Regions from separate parts of the Homo sapiens genome. Here region 1 is linked to region 2. The links are contacts of gene promoters, found by promoter capture Hi-C in blood cells and fetal thymus (Javierre and others, 2016). All regions are on one chromosome and are shown on one strand. The core of a region is centred on a gene start or on the middle of the fragment in contact, and the rest is flanking DNA. Distances in the headings are between cores, read along the strand shown.

Region 1 (6,999 bases), core at 2,456-4,955, 910 kb before region 2:
CGGTGAGTGTTACAGTTCTTAAAGGCGGCGTGTGTGGAGTTTGTTCCTTCTGATTTTCGGATGTGTTCGGAGTTTCTTCCTTCTGGTGGGTTCGTGCTCTCGCTGGCTTCAGGAGTGAAGCTGCAGACCTTCGCAGTGAGTGTTACAGCTCATAAAGGCAGTGTGGACCCAAAGAGTGAGCAGCAACAAGATTTATTGCAAAGAGCGAAAGAACAAAGCTCCCGCAGTGTGGAAGGGGACCTGAGCCGGTTGCCACTGCTGGTTGGGGCAGCCTGCTTTTATTCCCTTATCTGGCCCCACCCACATCCTGCTGATTGGTCCATTTTACAGGGTGCTGATTGGTGCGTGTACAATCCCTGAGCTCGACACAAAAGTTCTCCAAGTCCCCCCTAGATTAGCTAGATACAGAGTACTGATTGGTATATTTACAAACCCTGAGCTAGATACAGAGTGCTGATTGGTGCATTTACAAACCTTGAGCTAGACACAGGGTGTGGATTGGTACATTTACAAACCTTGAGCTAGACACAGAGTGCTGATTGGTGTATTTACAATCCCTTAGCTAGACATAAAGATTCTCCAAGTCCCCACCAGATTAGCTAGATACAGAGTGCCGATTGGTGCATCCTCAAACCCTGAGCCTAGACACAGGGTGCTGATTGGTCTGTTCACAAACCTTGAGCTAGACACAGAGTGCTGATTGGTGTATCTGCAATCCCTTAGCTAGACATAAAGGTTCTCCAAGTCCCCACTAGACTCAGGAGCCCAGCTGGCTTCACCTGGTGGATCCTGCACCAGGGCCGCAGGCAGAGCTGCCTGCCAGTCCCGCGCTGTGCGCCTGCACTCCTCAGCCCTTGGGCGGTTGATGGGACCAGGCGCTGGGGAGCAGGGAGCGGCGCTCGTCAGGGAGGCTCAGGCCACGCAGGAGCCCACGGCAGTGACTTGGAGAACCTTTATGTCTAGCTGAGGGATTGTAGATACGCCAGTCAGCACTCTGTGTCTAGCTCAAGGTTTGTAAATGCACCAATCAGCACTCTGTATCTAGCTAATCTGGTGGGGACTTGGAGAATCTTTATATCTAGCTCAGGGATTGTAAACGCACCAATCAGCACCCTGTCAAAACAGACCAATCAGCTCTCTGTAAAATGGACCAAATCAGCAGGATGTGGGTGGGGCCAGATAAGGGAATAAAAGCAGGCTGCCTGAACCAGCAATGGCAACCCGCTCAGGTCCCCTTCCACACTGCGGGAGCTTTGTTCTTTCACTCTTTGCAATAAATCTTGCTGCTGCTCACTCTTTGGGTCCACACTGCCTTTATGAGCTGTAACACTCACCGCGAAGGTCTGCCGCTTCACTCCTAAGCCAGCGAGAGCACGAACCCACCAGAAGGAAGAAACTCCGAACACATCCGAACATCAGAAGGAACAAACTCTGGACATGCCGCCTTGAAGAACTGTAACACTCACTGTGAGGGTCTGTGGCTTCATTCTTGAAGTCAATGAGACCAAGAATCCACCAATTCCAGACACACTGCCATGTATAACCCTACTGCAAATAGTAGAGTGAGTATAGCAATTCCCACAAGTGTGGTGTAGTAGATACTTTCCATCTAAAATTTTATTTGCCAAGGTATCCAGATTTTTGTGTTACCCATCTCTTTTTGTTTCTTGTAAGCTTCAGGAGATCACCACTTGATTCACAGGAATAAGCAGTGTTAGTCTAAAATGTAGGCACACAACTTAAAAACAATTAATGTGACTAGGATTTAATGACAAATGTATGATAAGCTTTGGAGCATATTTTCTCTCTCTAGTCCTGATTTTGGTAAAAACAAATTATGATAGGACCGTGTTGTTTGTAGAATAAACCTTAGTCTTATATTTGGCCTTGTTATTTGCATAAAGTTCAGCAAGAGTAATTATTTCTGCATAGTCCTTTTGGATTGGCTTCGATGGAACTCTGTTCCACAAGAAATCTCAGATAAGACTTCTTAAAGCTGAGCCCAGCATGGGTTTGTATCTTCAAATACCTGTGAGTTGGGTGATCCTTTTCTCTTAAGGTCCCAAGATAAACTTGGAGCTCCTGGACCTGTTAGAAAGTGACATTCTTTACTGACCAAAGGTTAGGAACCCTGTGCGGGGACTGTGTAGACAAGGTATGAGGCCAGTTCTTCCCATGGGGCTTTTTCAGCTCTGCAAGTGGAGGTTGACTCCTTAAAGGGAAGCATACACTTCCAGTCAAAGCCTTGATAAAATAGCCAGTTTTTCCATTTGTGTCCTGTTGAAAAAGAAAAATGGATTCTTATTTCACTGATGCAAACAACTATATTGCCATAAGTTAAGAGTTCTCACAGATTAGAGGAACCAGGCAGAGAGAAACAATCATGCTTCAAGTTTTGTTCACAGGAGTATACCTTACTCAATTATTAAAGGCTGTAAATAGTTCAAAATAAGTTTCCTTGACTCTGAAAAACAAACCAAGGATCAGCAATATTCCAAGCAAAAGTCAAAAAGATTGCTTTAGCTTTCTGAGTGTAGTCCATTTAGTCAATTCTTGTTTTGCTTGATATTTGTGAACATTTCAGTTCATGAGTCCTGTACGTTCTTTCTCTCTTCCAATGTTACAATCTTCAAAGCTGTTAAAAACCTGCATTTGAGGACACCTGTTGAAAGTCCTTAATATAGCTTGATTATAAACTGTCTTTTCAGAAGGAACAAAGCAAAACAACAATTGTCTGTGCATGACAAAATTTCCAGGTTACAGTTAAAAACATGACGGAAAAAGTTTAGTTAACCTTAATTATGATTGATAGTATATACTTAGACATTAGAATTTTAGAAATCCCATACAATTTTGGAACATATATTAGTATTATTCACCAAAATATAACTTAAAGAAGATTGGACATCGTTTTGGCAATTCTAATGTGACTAAACATGTCAGATAATCCTGTTTACCTCTTCTCTGGATGTTTCAGGGGCCTTCTGAACAATCCAGAAAGCCAGGCATCAGGAAGGACAATTTTGAAACTTGAAGCTTGATTTTGGGATGCCTTTTAAATGTTAGAGGTTTAAAACACTTGATGTTATGAAATAGAATTCCAAATTGCCATTATTTATTTTGCCAAAATGATGTCACAAAAGGAAAAAATCTTTCATCATCCTTTACTATTACATGAAAATCCTGTTTAAAGCCAAATTTTACCCTTGTATTAGTTTATTAAAGTTGTAAACAACCTTTTGATAAAACCTCATAGGAAAGTTCACCTAATCTTAACCAATGACCATGGGGTGAAGTCTTTACAAACCCTTTACAACCCCTTTTGTTAAACGGCAGATTAGTGTCTTAAGACAGCCTTGCCGTGTTTTTCTTTCAATGCTCAATTTAGGAAAAGACCATATAATACCCTTTTGAATTTAGTTAATGTTTATACATTTTTGCAAGATTAATTTTTGTCTTCCTGTAACTTGCTTAAACCTTTAGCTCTGTCTTATTAAATTTAAGATAATCTCTTATCCCTGGGCAAAATTTATATTTTCATGCTTTCTTATAATCTTTTACTAAAAAACACATTTCACTGTTTTTATAAGCCTTGCATATAAAACTTTAGAGATCTCAAATACATGTTGCACTGTTAACTCTCAGCAACTTTTACTTTAGGTAAAAAACCTGGTTAGTAAGTGATTTTAATTATATACCAGGTGTGGAGTCTAGGACCCAGACAAAGTCAGGCTTATGGGGTCCTGGGCCTGCATCCTAACCTAAGGTACCCTTTCTTTTGACAGAACGCTACAGAAAGACACACAAAGCACACCAGATTGGTTACAGCTTAAGACCAACCTCACAAATTCTTTTTTATTAATTAAAACTTTACAGAGAATAAACAATCATCCTTATTATCCTTGTTACTGGTTTGCACAGGAAGAGATAAGCCAAAATGTTGACTGGTAAAAAAACTTTTACCCTTTTGCCAGCATGTCAGGCTTCTGGGTTCCCTTCCCATTAGCTCAACTCTAAGTCAACCATTTTAAGGTTTGGGGAAATTAACTTTTCCTACTTTGGAGGAACATTATACAGGAAGAGATAGGAACCATTGTACACTGTGAAAGAAGGAAAAACACCATAGAAAAGTCTGGGGATTCCAGTTAGGGTTGTCAAGAGGTACCGCCTCTCTTCCTATTGGGAATTGTGTTTCTCTTATTTCTTTGCCTTCCCTATTTTCTCTTTTCGTTTTAGGCCTACTATAGGAAACGTTGCTTATCTTTCAATTTCTTTGCTGCCTGCTCTTCAGCTGTAATTAGGGTTTGGCTTAGAAGCAACATAAAATCTCTTCATGAGAGGTGAAACACCTGAGTTAAATTTTGGAAAGCTTCTATATACCTATCAGGGTCTTCAGAAAATTGGCCTCAGTCACCTTTATTTGCCTAAGGTCTTGCAAAGAGGAGGGAACTTGAACCCTAGTGACATCACCTCCATTGGGCATTTCCTGTAGAGGTAAGAGTGAAAGTGGGGAGTGGGAAATTTTGGAGATGGTGGAGGTGGAAGAACTGGTGGTATGGTTGGAGGTGGCCCTAAATAAGGGGGACTTGAAGGGCTGGGACACCCAATAGCTGCCTCAGATGATTTCCCCAGAAGTTGCTTCTCTCATTTTGGGGAATTATTCTCTTTGGGCCTGCTCAATATGATTGCTAAAAGGGCTGGGTTAATTCTGTAACGCTTGCAAAGGTCTAGTAAAAAGGCCATGCCCTGTGCAAAAGAAAATGAGCTGCTTTTTAAAGTTTCAGGGTCAAAGAAATCCTTGTGCTTCAGAATGCACTCCAGGGGAGTGCAGGATGAAGATGGTACCCACTTAGAGAAAAAGGTGGCCCTTTAGTCTCCTTCCTTTTGGTGTGACCCATGGTGGAGAGGAAGCAGTGGGGGCATCCCCCCTGCTTTTTTCCCCCTGTGTTTCCTGGGTCCCAGGCACCTTGTTGAACATGCTGCCCATGGTTGCAAGTGTGACCCCCAGTCATGGAACCAGAGGAACTAAGTCACTGGGGCTAGTCATGCTCACCCAAGTGGCTGTAGTCCTCTGCCTGTGATTTCCCTTTAACTTCCTAGACTTGTGTGACTTGCCTGGCTTCCTGAAAAATGGATTTCAAGAAAAACTACATAATAGTTGGGCAAGGCCCCTTTAATGCAGGGGATGTGCTAGATTGAACTCTGTATCCTGCTATTATGGCCTGTGCTGAAGCATTTACCCTTAGATAATGGTTCCAGTTAACTTCCAAACTTAAAATTCCCTTACTAATTAAGTACTACTCTAATTGAAGGCAGAATAGGTGGCTTAAAAAAACTTAGGGATTGAATGGCCATTTTCCTGCTGATGAGACAGTATTGAGACTAAATTTTGGCTTTGGAGGAATATTTTACCCCTAATTGTTGAAGGCAGAGTTTTCTCATTTACAGAACCAGCATAAAGCCTGGTTTCTAGTAGAGAGGCACAAAAAGGAAAGAGAATTGGGAGGCTAGGATGTTTCATTGGACTGACAGTGTGCTTCATGGAGAGGATTCCTATTTCACTAGGTGGCGCTGTTGACCTTGAAACACCACATACTCTCTAGACCAAGGGCAGAGAGAGACCTGGAAAATGCCATGTGCTCTCCAGACCAAGGGCAGAGAAAGAGAGATTCTCACTGTTGGGGGGTCAGGGAGCCCTGTTCTTAGAAAATCACAAAGACGCTTCCCCTTGAGCTATATGCCTTGTTACTACGACATTCCCTGATCTTACCAAACAAGACTACTTCCCTGAACCATAAAACTTCCCACACATTTCATACAGAGAGGATAAGAGATATGACGGTTGCGAACAGGAGAGGAGGAGATTACAATAGGAAAGTTGGAGATCCTGTTGCCGACACCGCATTGGGGCGGTTGGCGGCTGGGGTCCAGAAGCCTTTGGATAACACCAGGGGGTAGCGCCGGCCAGAAATCCTCAGTTGCCCCAGGACTTCTTCCAGCCCCACACGACAGCTAAGTCCTCCATGAAAGGTCTAAAATGGAAGCCGAGAACCTTGGAATGAAAGGACAGAGTTAGAGTTCGCTCTTCCCCTTACCGTTCTTATGAATGTTGTACCTTGGTATCCCGGACAAAGCTGCCATTATGAAGTGGCTACACTATCTGGGGTGTATACCCTAGGGTTTGTTGTTGCCTGCCGAGAAAGAATTAGGACACGGACATGTGGGTGGGTTAAGGAGTGGAAAGCTTAATAGACAGAAGAAAGGAGAGAGGAGAGCAGCTCCTTGAGAAAGAGACGTGTTCGAAAAAGGTACTTTCTGGTCTCTTATGCTTCTGCTTTGATTCCTTTTCTGTTCCAGCCATGTTAAACTTCTTTCAGGTCCTTGAACAGGCCCTACCTGTTATTTCTTAACCACAGGGCTTCACACGTGCTGTTCTCTGCTTTGGAAGTTTCTGAACTCCCACATCCACCCAGGCCAACCCTTCTTGTCCTTTAGGTCTTAACATTTTTTTTTTTTTTTTGTGATGGAGTCTTCCTCTGTCTTGCCCAGGCTGGAGTGCAGTGGCGTGATCTCAGCTCACTGCAGCCTCTACCTCCCGGTTTCAAGTGATTCTCCTGTCTCAGCCTCCCAAGTAGCTGGGATTACAGGCGCCTGCCACCACACCCAGCTAATTTTTGTATTTTTAGTAGAGACGGAATTTCACCGTGTTGGCCAGGTTGGTCTCGAACTCCTGACCTCAGGTGATCCACCCACTTTGGCCTGCCGAAGTGCTGGGATTACAGGCGTGAGCCACTGCACCCAGCTGGTCTTAACTTTTATGGTATGAACTCTTGGAAGCTTTCCCTTGGAAGCTTGAATAGTTGCCATCTTAACATTTCTTGTTGATGTATCCGTATCTCTGTATATCATTCCCTTCTTCACAACTTTAACCTTGGCACTTTGCATACTGCTGGCCACATAGTGGGCACTCAGGAAATATTTATTGACTGTTGATAGGCT
Region 2 (7,239 bases), core at 4,740-7,239:
AGGCCGGAGCAGGTGGCTGCCCCTTGTCTGTGCCGCTGTAAGGGCCTTGGGCTTCTCTCTACCTAGACTTCCCACATGACGTTGAATGGAACTGTTTATGCATCTGTCTCTCCCACTAGAAAGCTGGCTGCTTGAAGGCAGGGGGCTGTACCTGTTCACTGTCATAGCCCCAGGGCCTAGCACAAAGACAGGCATAGAAAAGCAGCCCGACAACTACTGTGAAGCTCGCACCGACTGCAGGATGATCAAGTAAACCTCTTAGGTCTGTTCTACCCACCCCAAGCACCTAGTTGCCCCCTAACCATTTTTGGGCCATTGCCCCAGCCTAAAACCTCCTCCACCATTACCCAGGCCTACTCCCAAATTCACCTCATCCATGAAACCATCCCAAACTGGCTCCACTCTACAGATCGTTGCTATGGTAACTGCCTCCCATACTTTATCTCCCCTACCCCTTGGGTAAGTGAGCATTTGGGTCTGGCTCTGTGGCCGAATATGAGTGAACAGTAGGCATTAAGAAGCTCTGGGAAGTTCAAGGCTTTCTGTTCATCATAATGATGTCAGACAGCAAGCCACCTCAGCCCTGAGCACTGGACCTGAAGTCTGAAGTCAGGGTTCATATCCCTGCTCTACTGCTTACTCGTGACTTGGGCATGCCACTAACCATGAAGGCTCAGCTTCCTGCTCTGCAAAATGGGTATAACAACAACTGCCTCACAGGCTGATAACGATAACCACCTATTATAAAAGGCAGATGGGATAATTTGTGTGAAATAGTTTGCAAACTGTAAAGCCAAATCAAGTGCAGCGTATTAAAGTAGCCCCAGTGTCAACCAACCACTATCCAACCTTTCTGTCCTTCTCCCTACCAGTAGTTTTGTCCTTACTTGAGTCAGTTGAGAATCAAATGAAATCTGTAGATTCTCTTCCTAGAAAAGTACACACGCATCCCAGCTTTGCAAACACTTCCAAAAGGTTCCTGAGGACCCTGCCTCAGGGCCAGAAAGCCACAGACCAAGCTTAAGAGCACTGTAGGACACCAAGACACCCTATATTTCCCAAATACAGACCTTCATTTGCTCATGAATGCCAAAGATGAAGATAAGGCAGGAAGGGCCAGTTGTGAAGGAAAGAGAAGTCAAATGAATTTCAGAGCCCTTCCCAGAACCAGAAGACAGGAGAGAAGAAGATAAAGAGTTCTCACTCTTTGGGAAGAACCTAACTTTTTTCCAGAAAGCATTACGGTACATAGAAAGAAGATTGGATGAAATCTCAAATTCCAGGATTTTTTACCCACTCTGCTAAGGGCTCACCATGACCTTAGGCAAGTCATTCCACTTCCCTAGGCTTCAGGTCTTCACGTGAAGATCAGATCATCTTCAAAGTCCTCCCCAGCTCTGGGTGCCGGAGATCCAAGGATGTGTCTGTTCTCACCCCGTTGTGAACCACAGCTCTGGCCTTAATTCCAAAGTCAGAGGCATGCTGAGAGCACGGTGCTAACACAGGGAGAAGGCCACCATTATAGCAAGGTTCTAAATTAAACCGCACACAGCGGGAGGCAGGGGCAAAAGAAAACCCAAACCTGAAAGGAAGCAGCTGAGCTCAGGGTGCCGGTGAGTCAGCAGTGAGGCCCAGAGGTAGACGCCCCCTCCCCCTGCCAAGCCAAGGACATCAAATGGGGCTGTGTTATCAGGTAAGTTATGCAGAAATGCCACCACGTGTGGAGAATTCTCAGAAACTGCAATTTGCCTGCATGTTTGTACCTCCTGTTCTCTATCTGGGCTCAGGATTCTCTCTCCAACCTAACCACCCATCTCCTGCCTCCTCCTTCATGACCTGAGCTGCAAACAACATAACCTTAAAACAAGGGCAATGGAGCCCAAAACAGAAATGAAATTAGAGGACAATATCTGGGACCAGACGGTGAGTTTGGGATTAGATAAAAAGCAGACTTGTATTAACACACCTACACAGACCTGTAAGGCAGAAACTCCTACACCCAGGCAGGGCCTGAGTGAGACCTTGACCAAAGCCACAGCCTGTCCCTGAGTCACAGCACATCTGAGCTGGGGCGGGACCACGGAGAACATCTCCTTAGCTCCGTGTCGCCAGAAACCTGTTGGTTGGCTTCAGGGTAATTTCCATCAGCTGCCTAACTTCCACAGAAGAACATACCTCTGGGCCCTCCCGGGAGGTTGCAAACAGCCTGAAGTTCAGGGTAACAAGGCTATCAAGGTGTTTTTTCCCCATCGCTTCCTTCTGCATTTGCTCTAGAATAAGAACTGGCATCTTGGGCCCCTTGAAACCAACATATGTGAAACTAAGTTCCAGGGTGACTGCTCTAAAATATTTATGATTTGTTCCCTCCTGTAGGCTGTGTTATTGCATTGCAACTTAACTATCTCTGCTCTACTATCTTTGTAGAGAAGCAGAGTATCTGGCCTAAGTGAGGCTGGTGCTTCATAAACATTTGCTGGACTTAATTAACATTTGTTAAGTTTTCTTTGTATGCACTTCTAGATACACAAACATGTAGGTGCCCAGTACATATTGAGTGAATGGTTAATTAATTGATTAGTTGGCTAAACTTAATAACCCTCCAGGCTGTCTGACAGCCTTCACATGCATGAATTCTGAGAAATCCATGCAGGCATGTATAAGTTCTTTGCTCCTTGAATTCAATAAAGACTCAATGAACACAGCCATACAAACACAGGTAAGTGTTACATGAACAGGCATACCATATACATTTATTATATGCACATATGATTCTGGTAGAAACTGGATGTATCACAGCTGCTATCCATTCACCAACAGCAAATTATTAAATGCGTGGTAATAACAGCAATGCAGACTTCCGTTCTTTAGTGGCTGCTCTCATTAGGAATGGTTAACAAATCAAGAGTGTTTTGAGAAAGAATATGTGTCAGCATAATATACTCTATTTTTTAGCTTCAGTATTTCCTGAGGTGTCAAGAATCCATACTCAGAAAAAAAGTGGCCACTATTAATTAAATGCCATAAGCTGAGAAAAGGGGGAATGTGGCCCTTCCCCCACCCAGAGGCCTTATGCAAGCCACATTTTTGAGCCTCAGTGTGTTCATCCGTAAAATGGGGCTAATACTCTCCTACCTCACAGGACCCTCTTAATAAATGCTATGATATCTGGCGGGGGAGGGGGGAGGTTCTGGGGGAAGAAAACCTGCCCTGTAAGGTCATACAAACATATTATTATTCTAGCAAGCTGTTAATCACTGATGACACTGTGCCCTAGAATGTGTTACAAAATTGCTGCCTCTGAGCATCCATTATCCAGGACAGATACTTGACACAGATGAGGTGATCTGTGTGTAAATCGAATCCTGTGTCAAACACTCAGGAGTTTCCCCAGACAACCTGAGCGTGTCCTGGCCATCCTCTAGCGTCTGTTCGGTGCATTCTGTTCACGTATAATTGGGTTTTCTTGAAAGCCAGGCCATCTCCTCGCGCAGCCCGAGCCTGCTAGGAGCCTGGATTCCTGAGGTTTTCAGCCCAGATCGGGCCCTGGGCAGGAGGAACTGGGAACGGACAGCCGGCGGCCCCTCCCTGCGCTCTGGGCGGCTCCTTCCTCTCGGCCCTGGCTCCAGCAGCGGCGGCGCTCTCTCGCGCTGTGTCACTTTCGCCCTACGGAGGCTCTAGCCGCGGCCGAGCCGGCGGCTCCAGCGGCTTCCTCCTTGGTCGCGCGGGCCCCTGGACTGGGGGATAATCCTCGGGCCGCAGAGACACAGCGCCGGGCGGGCGGCGGCCTGGGCCGGGCTGGGGCGCGCTGGGCTTGGGCTCCCACTGTCCCCAGACTGAAGAGCCGGGGCTGCGGTTGGCAGTCGCTGACTCTCTCCCCGGTCTGCGAAGGCAGCGGCGGCGAGCGCGGGCACGCACACCCATAGAACGCCTCGGTGCGGGGTCACCCCAGCGTGGACTGGGGGCGGCGCAGCCAAACCAACCCCCCGCGCCGCCGGGTGGACCCCCAGTCTGCCGGGTCACGGGGCGTCGCGGACGCGGAGGGAGGGGCTGTGTGACTCCGGCCGCACAGCGGACCTGGGACTCCTGCACCGAAGACCAGCACACGCGACCCTACGGTCTTCCCCGGCCCACAGCCGCACGGTCCCCTCTCCAAGTAACTCGGGCGCGCGCGCGCGGGGACACACGACCCCGACTTAGACAAGGAGGGGGCTGGCGGGACAGGTCGCGCGGAGGATCGGGGCCCACGCTTGTCCCCACTACGCCGCGGTCTGCGGTCCCCGCCCCCCACACACACCGGAGCCGTGTGTACACACAAACAGCCGGGCGGGGGAGGCGACGCCTCACTCCTCGGGGTGGAGACGCACGCGGCGCCGCCAGTCAGCCCTCCCCTCTACACGCCGCACACCCCGCGGTGCTCACACCCCCCAGCCCCAACCCTGAAAACTCCGCGGAACCAAACAGAGCCAACGCCGCCCAGATAACGGGCTCGGACCACCCCCCTCCCGATTGTCTTTTACCATCAATAGAGAAACACTCGGCTCAGGCGCGCGGTGTCCCGGACGCCCCCTCCGGCCACATCCAGGCACCGGCACGCGGCCCTCCGAGGCCCCAGACCTTCGCCGCAGCCCAAGCCATCGCCCCCCCGCCCGCCCTCCCCCATGACCGGCGCCCGGGACAGTTACCTGCTCGTCGTCCTGATGAACCCGAGCCGGAGCCCACCCCACGGCCTCTCGGGTCACTCGCCACCCAGAGGTGGCTTTTCAGAGCCTGTCAAGTGAACCCCTCTCCGCCGGGCGTATCTATTCCCCAGGCCCGATTGCACCGCAGCGACAGGAATAATAAAAAAAGCCAACAGAACCACAACCGTTGGGAATAACCAAAGGGGAGACCGCAACGGGTCCACCGATTTGGTTTCTTCCTCTGCTCCCATCCCCCGCTCCCCCCGCGGCCCGCGGGCTCACCGGGGACGCAGGGAGGGGGCTGCGCCCTGTCTAGACGACAGCCATCCACAGACATCCCCGAGCCCGCGGGGACGGGCGCGCACACTCACACACGCCCGCTGCCACAGACACAATCAGTCACCGGGGAAGGGAGGGGCGGCGTGGCGACACACTCTCGGGGTCCCTCCCGCAGCCCCGAGTGCCGCAGCCCCCGGCCCCCAAACGCCACCCCGAGACGGGCTCCCTACCTCGGCGGAGCGCGGTCTGAACAGCTGCAAGTTTGGCTGATACTAAACCAACTGCTCGATGCAGCAAATGCGGGCTTCAAAACAAAAGGGAGAGGAATCGCGCTCGCTCTTTTCCTCCTCCCAGGTCGGAACCCGGCACATGACAGCGGCTACACCGCGCAGCTCCAAAGCGAGCCGGGCTCCAGCCGTGCGTCCCCCAAGAGCCCCCCTTGGCGCCGGAGCTCCAGGGCCACGACACCCCGCGGGGCGGGGAACCCGGCAGGGAATGGGACAAACCCAGGGAGGGGGCGACACTGTGGAGTGCAGTTCCCCACCGAGGGGGAGGAGGGGATGGTAGATGGGTGCGGACACCCCGCTGGCCCAGGAGCAGGGATGGGGGGAAGGGGGCTGATTGTTTGGGGCGGTTTTCCCGGATTTATCTATAAGCACGCCCACGTCACGCAGCCCTCCTCCCGGGTCCCCGAATCGATCAGCAAGCTGAGATGACTATAAGAGGAGGACGGGCGAGGAGATGCTCACCTCGGGGTTCCTCTGGCCGCCGCGCCAAGCCCGAGTCGGGGGTGGGGGAAGGGGGCAGGGAAGGGGAAGGGAGGGACGAGGCTCCGGAGAGCCGACTCCTGCCTCGAGTTCGGAGCGTCCCAGCTGCGGAGGGGATCGGGCGCCCCAGCGCACAGACCCAGCAGAGAGGGGAGGGAGGGAGGGAAGGGAAACAGGGAGGGAGGGGCGGGTAGGGGGGAGGGAGTAGAGGAAGGAAAAAAAATGATCCCTGATCTGACACAGGGAAAGAGAATGTAGGAGAGTGACGTTCAGGCCCCGCCCTCCCCTCCGGCCACGTGCAAAGACTTGAAAGGAAAGAGGGCGGCTGGAGGCCTGCTGGGTAATGTAGTTCGCCTTTCTTTTCCAGGATGGCGGGCCCTGGAGAGCAGGGTGGCCCCAGGACGCTCGGGATGTCGCCTTAGCTGCCAAGACAGCCCAGTCTAGCGACGCCAAAACCCGCCGCCCAGCGACCCCACGGCGCTGGCGCAGCCCTGGGTGGGGGCCTCTGCGGTGGGAGAACTGGGGGCTTAGGCGCAGTCCAGGCTTACAGGGAAACGTTGGTTTTAGAGTCCGAAAGGCTTTAAGGATGAGAACGTCCGTGCCGAAAGTGCAAAGTCTGTGCTAATGGCAGATGAAAAGGAGCTTTGTGTATGCACTGGGGGGCCCAAGTGGCGTGATTAATGCTGCACTAAATGCCACCGTCGGTTATTGAGATGCATATGTTATAATTAACATTTGAGCATCTCTGTGTCGGGGGCTGGCTGTTGTAATTAGATACGCACTTTGCAACCAATTAATTTTCCTTCGGCCAAGCTAAGGGCTGGGACGGGGTGGTTGGGAGAATTCAACGTAGTGGATAATTCAGTAATGACTTAACCAGATCACCAATGTTTTGGTTAAAACTGAGCTTGGCACAGAGAGGCCTTCAGGAGAAATACTGAATAAAATACTGTATGCCCCAACAGGGAAGGGGGCTAGAAATTCATTAGAGGAACTGTGTGATGCAGTATAAACTGCTGTAGAAACCCATTTATTCATTAGTTTATATTCACATTTAGTGAGCACTTTCCACAGACCAGGTGTGTCTAGGAATGCCAAAACAGGTAAGACTCACAGTCTCTGCGCTCAAGGAGCTCAGTCCAGTATTAGGGACTACAGTCAATGAAAGTATTATACAAGGGATAAGTCAGCGCTTAACACAAAGTGCTGTGAAATTCCCCCCACCACACAACCTGGAGCAGCCAACTGGATGGAGGGTGGGTGGGGTCTGGGAGAGGGTCAGGAAGACTTCCTGGAGGAAGTGATACTTGAGCAAAGAATTTCTAAGTTTTTTTTTCTTTTTTTTTTTTTTTGGAGACTGAGTCTCTCTTTGTTGCCCTGGCTGGAGTGCAGTGGCGTGATCTTGGCTCACTGCAAGCTCTGCCTCCCTGGTTCATGCCATTCTCCTGCCTCAGCCTCCCAAGTAGCTGGGACTTCAGGCGCCCGCCACCACACCTGGCCAATTTTTTTTTTTT

The links. Contacts are between HindIII fragments. The CHiCAGO score rates a contact against its expected background, and 5 or more counts as called.
Region 1: a fragment that was not itself captured here is called in contact with the fragment with the promoter of CTIF in region 2 in 1 of 17 cell types (erythroblasts); the score reaches 6.5 in erythroblasts.

Annotation. Positions count from the first base shown.
Region 1 is chr18:49,446,582-49,453,580 of GRCh38, reverse strand. The region is part of intron 1 of DYM (dymeclin); the gene reads left to right. Among named protein-coding and RNA genes, the nearest start is that of DYM, 11 kb to the left of the region's middle. The HindIII fragment of the contact is 1,333 bases long and covers 3,039-4,371 here.
Region 2 is chr18:48,537,781-48,545,019 of GRCh38, reverse strand. CTIF (cap binding complex dependent translation initiation factor) reads right to left here and starts at 5,989. Exons shown (of 12, transcript NM_014772.3): 1 at 5,708-5,989. RefSeq lists enhancers at 1-399, 918-1,692, 1,693-2,469 and silencers at 3,624-4,103, 4,424-4,513, 4,944-5,303, 5,804-5,883. The HindIII fragment of the contact is 7,178 bases long and covers 1,022-7,239 here.